Regions from separate parts of the Homo sapiens genome. Here regions 1 and 3 are each linked to region 2. Evidence: promoter capture Hi-C in 16 types of primary human blood cells and fetal thymus (Javierre and others, 2016). All regions are on one chromosome and are shown on one strand. Each heading gives the region's core, a stretch centred on a gene start or on the middle of the fragment in contact. The rest is flanking DNA. Distances are from core to core; before and after follow the strand shown.

Region 1 (3,137 bases), core at 533-3,032, 260 kb before region 2:
CTGGCTAACACTAAAAATACAAAAAATTAGCCGGGCGTGGTGGCGGGCACCTGTAGTCCCAGCTACTTGGGAGGCTGAGGCAGGAGAATGGCGTGAACCCATGAGGCGGAGCTTGCGGTGAGCTGAGATTGTGCCACTGCACTCCAGCCTGGGTGACAGAGCGAGACTCCATCTCAAAAAAAACAAACAAAACTATAAGCAATGCTCAATGCTCTCCGATCTGTCTATACCAGAGTTTTTCAACCTCAGCACCACTGACATTTTCGGCCAGATGATTCTTTGTTATGAGGAGCTGTCTTGTCTATTGTTGGATGTTTACCAGTACCCCTGGCCTTTACTCACTAGATGCCAGTAGCACTCCCTCTCCCCTGTTCCAAGTTATAACAACCAAAAATATCTCCAACACTGCAAATGTCCAAATGTCCTCAGGGCAGGGCAGGCAAAATGGCCCACAACTGAGAAACAATGGTCTATACTACTTTTTCTTTATTCCTTTCCCTTGGAATGCTGATTATGCTCCACAAAATTTTGTTTTATTCACTAACGGATCACACAAATAGATCACAACCCACAATCTGAAAAACTACTGCTCTAAATAAAGCAAGAACCACAAGCTTAAATGTCTATATGGGTCAAGCCGGTGAGTCAAGAGAGGAAGATAATTAAAAGAAATTACAAGCATGTGAAAAAATAGCAGTTGACAGCTCCATGTTTGGGAAACAACTTCCTAAACAGCTGTAGTTGGTCAGATAATAGAATGTGTTGGAGATTAGTGTAAATTAGAGAGCACATGCTCCAATCAGTTCAGACCAAATACTGCTAAGGAAGAAAAGAGATCCATTGTTAACAACTCTTCCACGTTTTTAATAGAAGCCAAGAATCTGGAATTTTAAGTGAAATCTTCTGAATTTTAAACATCAGCAACCAGTTCTTTAAAATTTCAATAATGCTGTGTGATCCAAACAAATCTGTGAGATGGATTTGACCCACAGCCACCAGTTCACAACCTTTCATCAAAAGTAAAAGGTCTGGAAATCCCTCTAGTTCTCAACATCACTAGAGAGTAACACTGACTTAGCAATTTTCCTTAGGCCTAGAACTCACCGGTAATAACTTCAGTAAGGTCCATATCACGAGCCTTTCGAAGCAATCGCACAAGGGCAGGCACACCATCACAGTTTTTTATGGCAATCTTGTTATCCTGGTCACGTCCAAAAGAGATATTCTTGAGAGCTCCACAGGCTCCAAGGTGCACTTCCTTTTTGGGATGGTCTAACAATCCCACCAGTACTGGGATGCCCTTGAGCTTCCGCACGTCAGTCTTCACCTTGTCATTGCGGTAGCATAAGTGTTGCAGGTATGCAGCTGCATTGGACTTGACAGCATCCAAGCGGAATCCAAGCATGGCGATCACCTCTGGCAGCTCTGGCTGTCTCCAATTAGGAGGTGGAGGCCCTCCTTTGCGCAGGCTATCCAAGCTTGCTAAACTTCCTCGCTCATGCTGGGCCAAAGGAGCCCAGTAGTATTGATCCGATGGCACCTCCTCACCAATCATGTCTTCATAGCTCCTGAGAAGTTTTGGAAGAACCAAGAGAATACATCAAGTCATTATGGCTAGCTTCCTGGACATTCCCATTACCCTCATCTGCAAAGGAGGATTAACTGGAGTTTCAGTGTGCTCATCTTATCTCTCCTTTGCATGAATAATATACTGATCAATTTTCCTCAATGGGTTAGTAAAAATAAAAGGTAATAATTTTAAAAACACCTGCAATTTAATTAAAACTACATTTTTTTCTTTGAAGTCTGCAGGCTTAGAAAGTAACAAGCATTCAGGAAAGGCTAATCAAAAAGAAAGAACCAAATCCTTACTACTTATCATTTATTTGAATGATATCTGACAGTTATTAACTTGTCTAGGTAGAGATCAGGATAAACTCTCAGAGAACAGAATTAACCAAAGCAACTGACTCAATGCCACAGAAGTCTGAGAACAGTTCCTTAACCAAACAGGAAATTAGGCATTTACACACAGGAAACAACTGGTAGGATAAGACCTTTAAATACATTTCATATTTAAGCTTCTCCTTATCCTATTTTGGAAATTATAAAAGATGGATTGATAGAGAAAAACTAATAAAGGGCTTCCTGCTACATCACAGGAGGATCTGGCTTTGGTACTGATGAGGTATAAACTTGAAAAGTAATTTTCACAGTCATTCCAAGGTCATGTCTGCTACTCAACAAATGTGTTAAGAGGTAAGATTCCATCCTCCAATTTCTAAAGACAATACCTCCAGCTCTTTCAAAATGAAGCCTATTCACCAACATCACATTTGGGAAGCCCAGCCACTAGGAACAGAGAAAGCAATTGAAAGTAAGAAAAATCAAACCAGGAGACAATTCTTCCTGTTTCAGTACTACCAACAACCACTAGAGGGTGAGTCTGTCACACTATTATTTATTCGTAACTACCAGGAAGGAAGAAACCCATTATCTGTGAGCTCATCTCTTTCTGGCTCCCACAGGAGAGGATAATCTATTGTGTGGAGCTCTCCAAATAAGCCATTGTTTGTTCTACAAAACCACTCCCACTGTCAACAAATACTCAAGGTTGCCCTGAGCAGAAGGCCTGCCTCACAGGTATCAACATCAACTATGCAACAGTGATTCAGATGGACAAAGCATTTAGTAAACCATGACCAAGATGGTCTTAAAATAACACGGAAACAGGACCAGGCATGGTGGCTCACATCTGTAATCCCAGCACTTTGGGAGGCTGCAGTGGGCGGATTACCTGAGGTCAGAAGTTCGAGACCAGCATGGCCAACATGGAAAAACACCATCTCTACTAAAAATACAAAAATTAGCTGGGCATGGTGGTGGGCACCTGTAATCCCAGCTACTTGGGAGGCGGAGGCAAGAGAATCGCTTGAACCCAAGAGGTGGAGGTTGCAGTGAACTGAGATTGTGCCACTGCACTCCAGCCTAAGTGACAGAGCGAGACTCTATTTCGAAGAAAAAAAAAAAAAGGTCAAGATTAAACCCTTCAAATCAAGAAGGGGGTACTAAAAATGCCCAAACAGCTGGTAAAACAAAATTGGTTGTCTTCTAAACTATTATGTATCACTTTTGCA
Region 2 (3,148 bases), core at 538-3,037:
TGCTCCAGTCATCTTTTATTTTTAAGAGACAGGGTCTTACTCTGTTGCCCAGGCTGGAGTGCAGTGGCTCAATCATAGCTCACTGTGACCTCTACCTCCTGGACTCAACGGATCTTCCCACCTCAGCCTCCTGAGGAGCTGTGACCACAGATGTGCACCATCACACCTGGCTAATTTTTTGTTTTTTATTTTTTTTATAGAGATGGGGTCTCGCTATGTTTCCCAGGCTGGTCTCAAACTCTTGGCCTCAAGTGAACCTCCTGCCTCGGCCTCCTAAAGTGCTGAGTTTATAGGTATGAGCCACTGAGACTGGCCGCTCTAACCATCTTTCCTTCTGCCTACACGCTGCATACTTAGGGTGGTGGAGGGGAAGGGTAGGTGCACGCACACGGACACACACCTCGGCTATCCTGCGTGTTTATCACCTCAGCTTTCCACCCTCCAGGCTTGTCACAAATAGAAAAGGAGTGAAGATGCTCAGAATGCTGAGAAACCAGGACGCCACCACCCACCCCCAGCATTCACAGCCCTACAGCAGTTTACAGCTTATGCTGCGGAGGCCCTGCTTTCTCTTGGTCATTTCTTGCTCCGACCCTTCAGAATAGGTTATTGGCCCCATTAGGGAGCCAATGGGGATTTCAGGCTCAGGGAGTTGAAGTCCCTTGACTAAAGTTATAGGACAAGTGGCCTGGCTCTCTATCTAGAATCCAAGTATCCCAACTTCCACTCCAGAGCTCACATCAAATATATGCTCCCACTAGCTCCGCAGCCCAGTGTCCCTACAAAGGCCCTGGCCCAGAGTGGGGGCACCCCACCAGTTGGGAAGGGCAGTCAGATTCAGCCGAGGAGTTCCTCCCTCTTTCTTCTAGGTGCACAGTAGGCCCTTCATGAAAGTTTCTCTGCCCCCACCTTCCTTTCTTATTCTCTCCTTTCCTTCCTCCTTCCTTCCCCAGGAAGTCTCCAAACCATCCCTGTTTTGTGTCCAAAGCAGCACTGCAGATATCTCCCCTCCCTCTCTCTTCCTGTTTCTTCTGGCAGACCAGGAGGAAAGGGACCCAGGAGCCCAAGATCCAAACTCCCAGTAGTATAAACACTGGATGTTCTGTGGTGCGTCTGCCACCCACTGCAGCCTCATCTGTCATCTGGTTGTCCTAAGGCTTCCACCTTCCCCACTCAGCCAGGGGCCCTCCCTTGGAGAGGCCGACCTCAATTGCTTAGACTAGGGGTATCCAATCTTTTGGCTTCCTTGAGCCACACTGGTAGAAGTAGAAGTGTCTTGGGCCACATGTAAAATACGTTAACACTAACGATAGTGGATGAGCTAAAACAAAAATTGCAAAAAAAAAAAAAATCTCATAATGTTTTAAGAAAGTTTATGAATTCATGTTGGGCTACATTCAAAGCCATCCTGGGCCACAGGTAGCCTGTGGGCTGGACAGGCTTGGCTTAGACAGTCTACCCCCCAACCCAGTTTGACTCTTGAGACTCCCAAGGTCCCCTCCCCTGCTCTGTGGCCTCCTCGTGGATGGCCACTTGCAGTCTGCTCTGTAGGTGCTCTGGTGCAGGGCTGAGACCCCAGGCATCTAAAGAGAGTAGACATTGTGGTGGAGAGAATTAGAAAGGAGCCTGGATTTCTCCAAATGGGGGGCCCTCCTGGGAGGCTCTGGCCCTTGGACAGTGGGAGTGAGAATTGGCAGATGGGGAGGGACCCTTAGAAAGGGTGCCAGGGCTTCTCCTACCTGTGGGGCTTCTGCCTGTGGCTTGGGAGCTGTCTCTTTGCTCCAGCTGAGTGGCCTCACTCCCAGGCTGCCTTTAAGCCCCAGTGGCCTCTAGCCCCCAGCTCTTTGGTCCCGCCTCCCCCCTTCCTCTCCCTCTTCCACCCCACCCCCACTTCAAGAGTCTTGGGCTGCCTGAAGAGCATTGTTTACTGGCCTGTTGGTACAACACTTTACCCTAGACTGGGAGGCTCGGATTTCCCGTGGAAGATCTGACAGGTGGCACCTTTCAATCACGGCACGTCCCTTCCGCCCTGAGCCTGGCAGCATCCGTCCTGTGGTCATCTTTCTCCCCAGTGGACTCTCCTAACCCTAGGGACCTTGACAACCATCTTCAGGACTCATTTAGAGCATGGCCCTGGCCTCCACTGCTCATCCAGAGCCCAGGCGAGGCCTCTTGTGCTCCCTTCACACCCACCCCGCCACGTTCCTTACATAGCCCCTTTCCCTCGTCCTCAGACAAAAGCAGCTGCTTAAGGCTGGGCTAAGGAGGGGGCGAGTAGGGCAGCTGCCAACACAGGGGATGTGTCTTGGGGCTCACAGTTGACTGAGAGATTTGGAGGGGGAGGGGCAGAGAGGGCAAAAGTGATGGGACAAGCTGACGGATCACTGGACGGAGCCTGGAAAATACAAAACTCCTGAGTTCTATTTTGAGCTGAAGTGACAGGTACACAGTAGGCTCTGAACACATTTTTATACTGAACTGACATTTTGCTAAGAAAAAAACAAAACAAGCCTGGGCATGGTGGCTCATGCCTGTAATCCCAGCACTTTGGGCAGCCGAGGCGGGTGGATTGCTTGAAGCCAGGAGTTCAAGAACAGCATGGTCAACAGGGTGAAACCCTGTCTCTACTACAAATACAAAAATTGGCCGGGCTTGGTGGCGCATGCCTGTAATCTCAGCTACTTGGGAGGCTGAGGCACGAGAACTGCTTGAACCTGGGAGGCAGAGGTTGCAGCAAGTCACTGCACTCCAGCTTGGGTGACAGAGACTCCATCTCAAAAAAAAGTCTTCACTTTCTCTGTGTGTTTTACAATCTAAGAAAGGCACTACTTTTGGAGAATGGGTGCAGAGGACACTCCCACGAAGCTTGGGATCCCCCCCAGTCCTCCTACCCCAAGCCCCACCACTGGGCCACACTGGCCTCCTTCCTATTCCTTAAATAAATCCATCCCTTTTCAGACTCAGGACTGGTTTTTCCTTCTACTCTTTGTAAGACTGCCTCCCTCTCATTCTTCTGGACTTAGCTGAAATTTCATTCCCTCAGAGAGGTTTTCCATGACCTTCAATTCCTCTCCCTCATTTCAGCAGTTTTTATTGTCCTCATAATACTAAATCTAAAATTACCTTATTCATTTCCTTATTATCTGAC
Region 3 (3,109 bases), core at 584-3,083, 280 kb before region 2:
CGCATGCCTGTAATCCCAGCTACTCCAGAGGCTGAGGCAGGAGAATTGCTTGAACCTAAGAGGCGGAGGTTGCAGTGAGCCAAGATTATGCCATTGCACTCCAGCCTGGGCAACAAGAGCGAAACTTCACCTCAAAAAAAAAAAAAAAAAGAATTGAGGTGAAGACAAAAATTGGGTAATTGACTGGAACATCACCACAAATATCCCATATTTCTTTTTCCTCAGGCATAAATGTCTTATGGCACTGTCCATTAGCACTAGAGATACTGGGGGAAAAGACAGCAGGGTAGTAATACTTTTGTGTCCTCAATAAAAGTGGAATAACCTGTCTTTTTTAAAAAATAAAGTAGTATATGGAGATAAGTATAGCACTTTTTCTCAGGTAAAAAAAAATTTTAAAGCTAGTTGCCACATGCTTATAGCTCCTACAATTATAACAAGTGTAAAGCTCTTAGTCCATTCATGGATAGCTATCCATGGTCATTTTACACTGCATAAAAGGAGAAAAATGTCAGGTTAAAATGATGCAGACCAATCAACCTATCTTACCTCCTCCAGCTTTCTCTTCATCCATGTCTGTCTCTAAATCCTGGATGGATCAGTTGAAGAACTAATGCTTTAAGTGACACAGGCAACAGAACAGTCTTAAAGCTGTGTGAAAAAAAATTGTTCCTAACAATTATCTTGTTTCTTTTTTGAGCTTTCCTGAGGTAGCTCTTTCTGGAAGCTACCAGAGTGATTTAAGTTTCCAGATGTGGTCTCCTTGGCTTTAGCCAATGGGGCCACTTGCTCGCCAGTTGAGATACCCTTTGTAGCTAGAAGTGACACTTAAGTCAAAGTCGGCAATTCCAGGGGATTCTCTGTGACCTACAGGACCCCAAATTAAGGGCTAGCTTCCTGCCTCAGCAACCTGAGCATTACCTACATATGATTTTCAGGATGAGAAGCTTCTCCTACCCAGATACCACACACCAACCTATCACTTACCATTATCTCAAACTCTATTGAAAGCAATGCATTCCTTTGAGATAAAGTTTCCTCTATGAATGCTCTCTTAAAATGGTGATCACCACATCATATTGTCTACATTCACCATGCTAGTATTACTGCCAGTGGAGTTGAAGCCAGTAATCCTGGGTTCCACTTTGAGGCTATAACCTTAAGCAAGTCACTAGATCAGTCCCTTAAGTCACAGTTAACTGACCACATACATCAGAATAACCTGGATGGGCCAGGCATGGTGGCTTATGCCTGTAATCCCAGCACTTTGGGAGGCCTAGGTGGATGGATCACCTGAGGTCAGGAGTTCAAGACCAGCCTGGCCAACATGGTGAAACCCCGTCTCTACTAAAAATACAAGTATTAGCTGGATGTGGTGGCGGGTGCCTGTAGTCCCAGCTCATCAAGAGGCTGAGGCAGGAGAATCGCTTTAATCCGGGAGGCAGAGGTTGCACTGAGCTGAGATCGTGGCATTGCACTCCAGCCCGGGTGACAAGAGTGAAATTCCGTCTCAAAAAAAAAAACAAAAACAAAAACAAAAAAAAAGAGGATAACCTGGATGACTTACCATGATTTTAGATTCCTCAGTCCCACCTACTGAATCGATTTTTGGAAATGGAACATGGGACTCTGCATTTTCAACAAGCATACAGGGAATTCTTATGTAACTTGCTCAGATATACAGGGCTAGGTCTAGTCAATTCCATCTATGAAAATATTAAGAACCTTTGCTTCAGATATAAAAATAGACAAAATGAGAAAAAAATGATATGGAAAGACTGGTTCTTAGTTCTTCCTGGGTGAGGTGATTCCAGTTTGTAGCAAAGAAAATTAGTTCAGCAAGAAAAACAAGTGGCCGGCCATGCGCAGTGCCTCACACCTGTAATGCCAGCACTTTGGGAGGCCAAGAAGGGTGGATCACTTGAGGTCAGGAGTTTGAGACCAGCCTGGCCAACATGGTGAAATCCTGTCTCTACTAAAAATACAAAATTAGCCAGGCGTGGTGGTACACACCTGTAATCCCAGCTACTCGGGAGGCTGAGGCAGAAGAATCGCTTGAACCCAGGAGGCTGAGGTTGCAGTGAGCCGAGATTGTGCCCCTGAGTGACAGAGCAAGACTCTGTCTAAAAAAAAAAAAGTGGCCAAGTGAGGTCCCAGCTTTGACCTCTGTCACAAAGTACATCAGTGTCAAGAAACTTGTGAGATAGGGCCTTTACACATCATTCTGTGTAACATCTCATTGTATTTAGATATGGCACAGAGAGAAGTGTTTTTAAGATCATAGATCTTGTCTATGGCCATATCACCCTGAACGCACACGATCTCGTCTGATCATAGATCTTAGCTATAGAGGATTCTCATGGATTGCAATCTATGAGAAAAGATCCATCTGTTTCACTCTCTAATCTAAACCTAACCTTGACACAACGCTTAGCATATAGGAGGTGCTTGGCAAATATTTATTGAATGAGATAAACAAATGGACCAATCCAGAAGGAAGAGAGAAGAGTAGGGTTTGTATCTAGCTCAATGCCAAAGGATAAGAACATAACAGGGAAATAAAGTGTTGCTGACAAGCAGCCAGGCTTTTCTATTTAGATAAAAATCATCTCAAGCAGGGCTATCAAAACTCTTTGGAAAGTAAACTCTTAATAGCTTTTTGGCTTTGTACTTCAACCTCTAATCTAACACTACAATTGTTAGACACAAATCAAGCTTTAAAAGCTAGTTGATTTCCTGGTCTCACTAGCCCATGAAAGTTTTCATACCCAAGTCCTAGTTCAATAAAACAAGACAGGACCATCATCAGGAGCAGCTATATAATTTTAATCTAAAGATTTGGGCATACAGAAAGCATTTCACATAAATTCTCTTGAGTCTTTAATTATATGACAGGACATAAGGACCTCAGAAAAATAAGTATCTTCCCATAGATCTTAACCCTTGATCTCTGCAGCAAAGATAGTCCCTGGTAATCCAGGTAATATGGTCTGTAAAATATTAATAAATAGGCCTATTGACTTCTGACTAAAGGACTGCATATAGCCTGAGAAGCAACATTATGGCCCAGTGGTCAGTACTTATATACATGGGCCTTTTGATCCTACAT

The links. Contacts are between HindIII fragments. The CHiCAGO score rates a contact against its expected background, and 5 or more counts as called.
Region 1: a contact is called between a fragment that was not itself captured here and the fragment with the promoter of SMTNL1 in region 2, in 2 of 17 cell types (naive CD8 T cells and total CD8 T cells). The highest score is 5.6, in naive CD8 T cells.
Region 3: a contact is called between a fragment that was not itself captured here and the fragment with the promoter of SMTNL1 in region 2, in 1 of 17 cell types (total CD8 T cells). The highest score is 8.1, in total CD8 T cells.

The regions. Positions count from the first base shown.
Region 1 is chr11:57,800,164-57,803,300 of GRCh38, reverse strand. It overlaps CTNND1 (catenin delta 1), which reads right to left. Exons shown (of 21, transcript NM_001085458.2): 7 at 1,105-1,568. It overlaps TMX2-CTNND1 (TMX2-CTNND1 readthrough (NMD candidate)), which reads right to left. Exons shown (of 21, transcript NR_037646.1): 8 at 1,105-1,568. Among named protein-coding and RNA genes, the nearest start is that of CTNND1, 40 kb to the right of the region's middle. RefSeq lists an enhancer at 2,549-2,788. The HindIII fragment of the contact is 603 bases long and covers 1,481-2,083 here.
Region 2 is chr11:57,536,234-57,539,381 of GRCh38, reverse strand. It overlaps SMTNL1 (smoothelin like 1), which reads right to left and starts at 1,787. Exons shown (of 8, transcript NM_001105565.3): 1 at 1,740-1,787. The HindIII fragment of the contact is 14,036 bases long and covers 1-2,867 here.
Region 3 is chr11:57,818,877-57,821,985 of GRCh38, reverse strand. It overlaps CTNND1 (catenin delta 1), which reads right to left. Exons shown (of 21, transcript NM_001085458.2): 21 at 2,446-3,109. It overlaps TMX2-CTNND1 (TMX2-CTNND1 readthrough (NMD candidate)), which reads right to left. Exons shown (of 21, transcript NR_037646.1): 21 at 2,806-3,109. Among named protein-coding and RNA genes, the nearest start is that of CTNND1, 59 kb to the right of the region's middle. The HindIII fragment of the contact is 1,768 bases long and covers 950-2,717 here.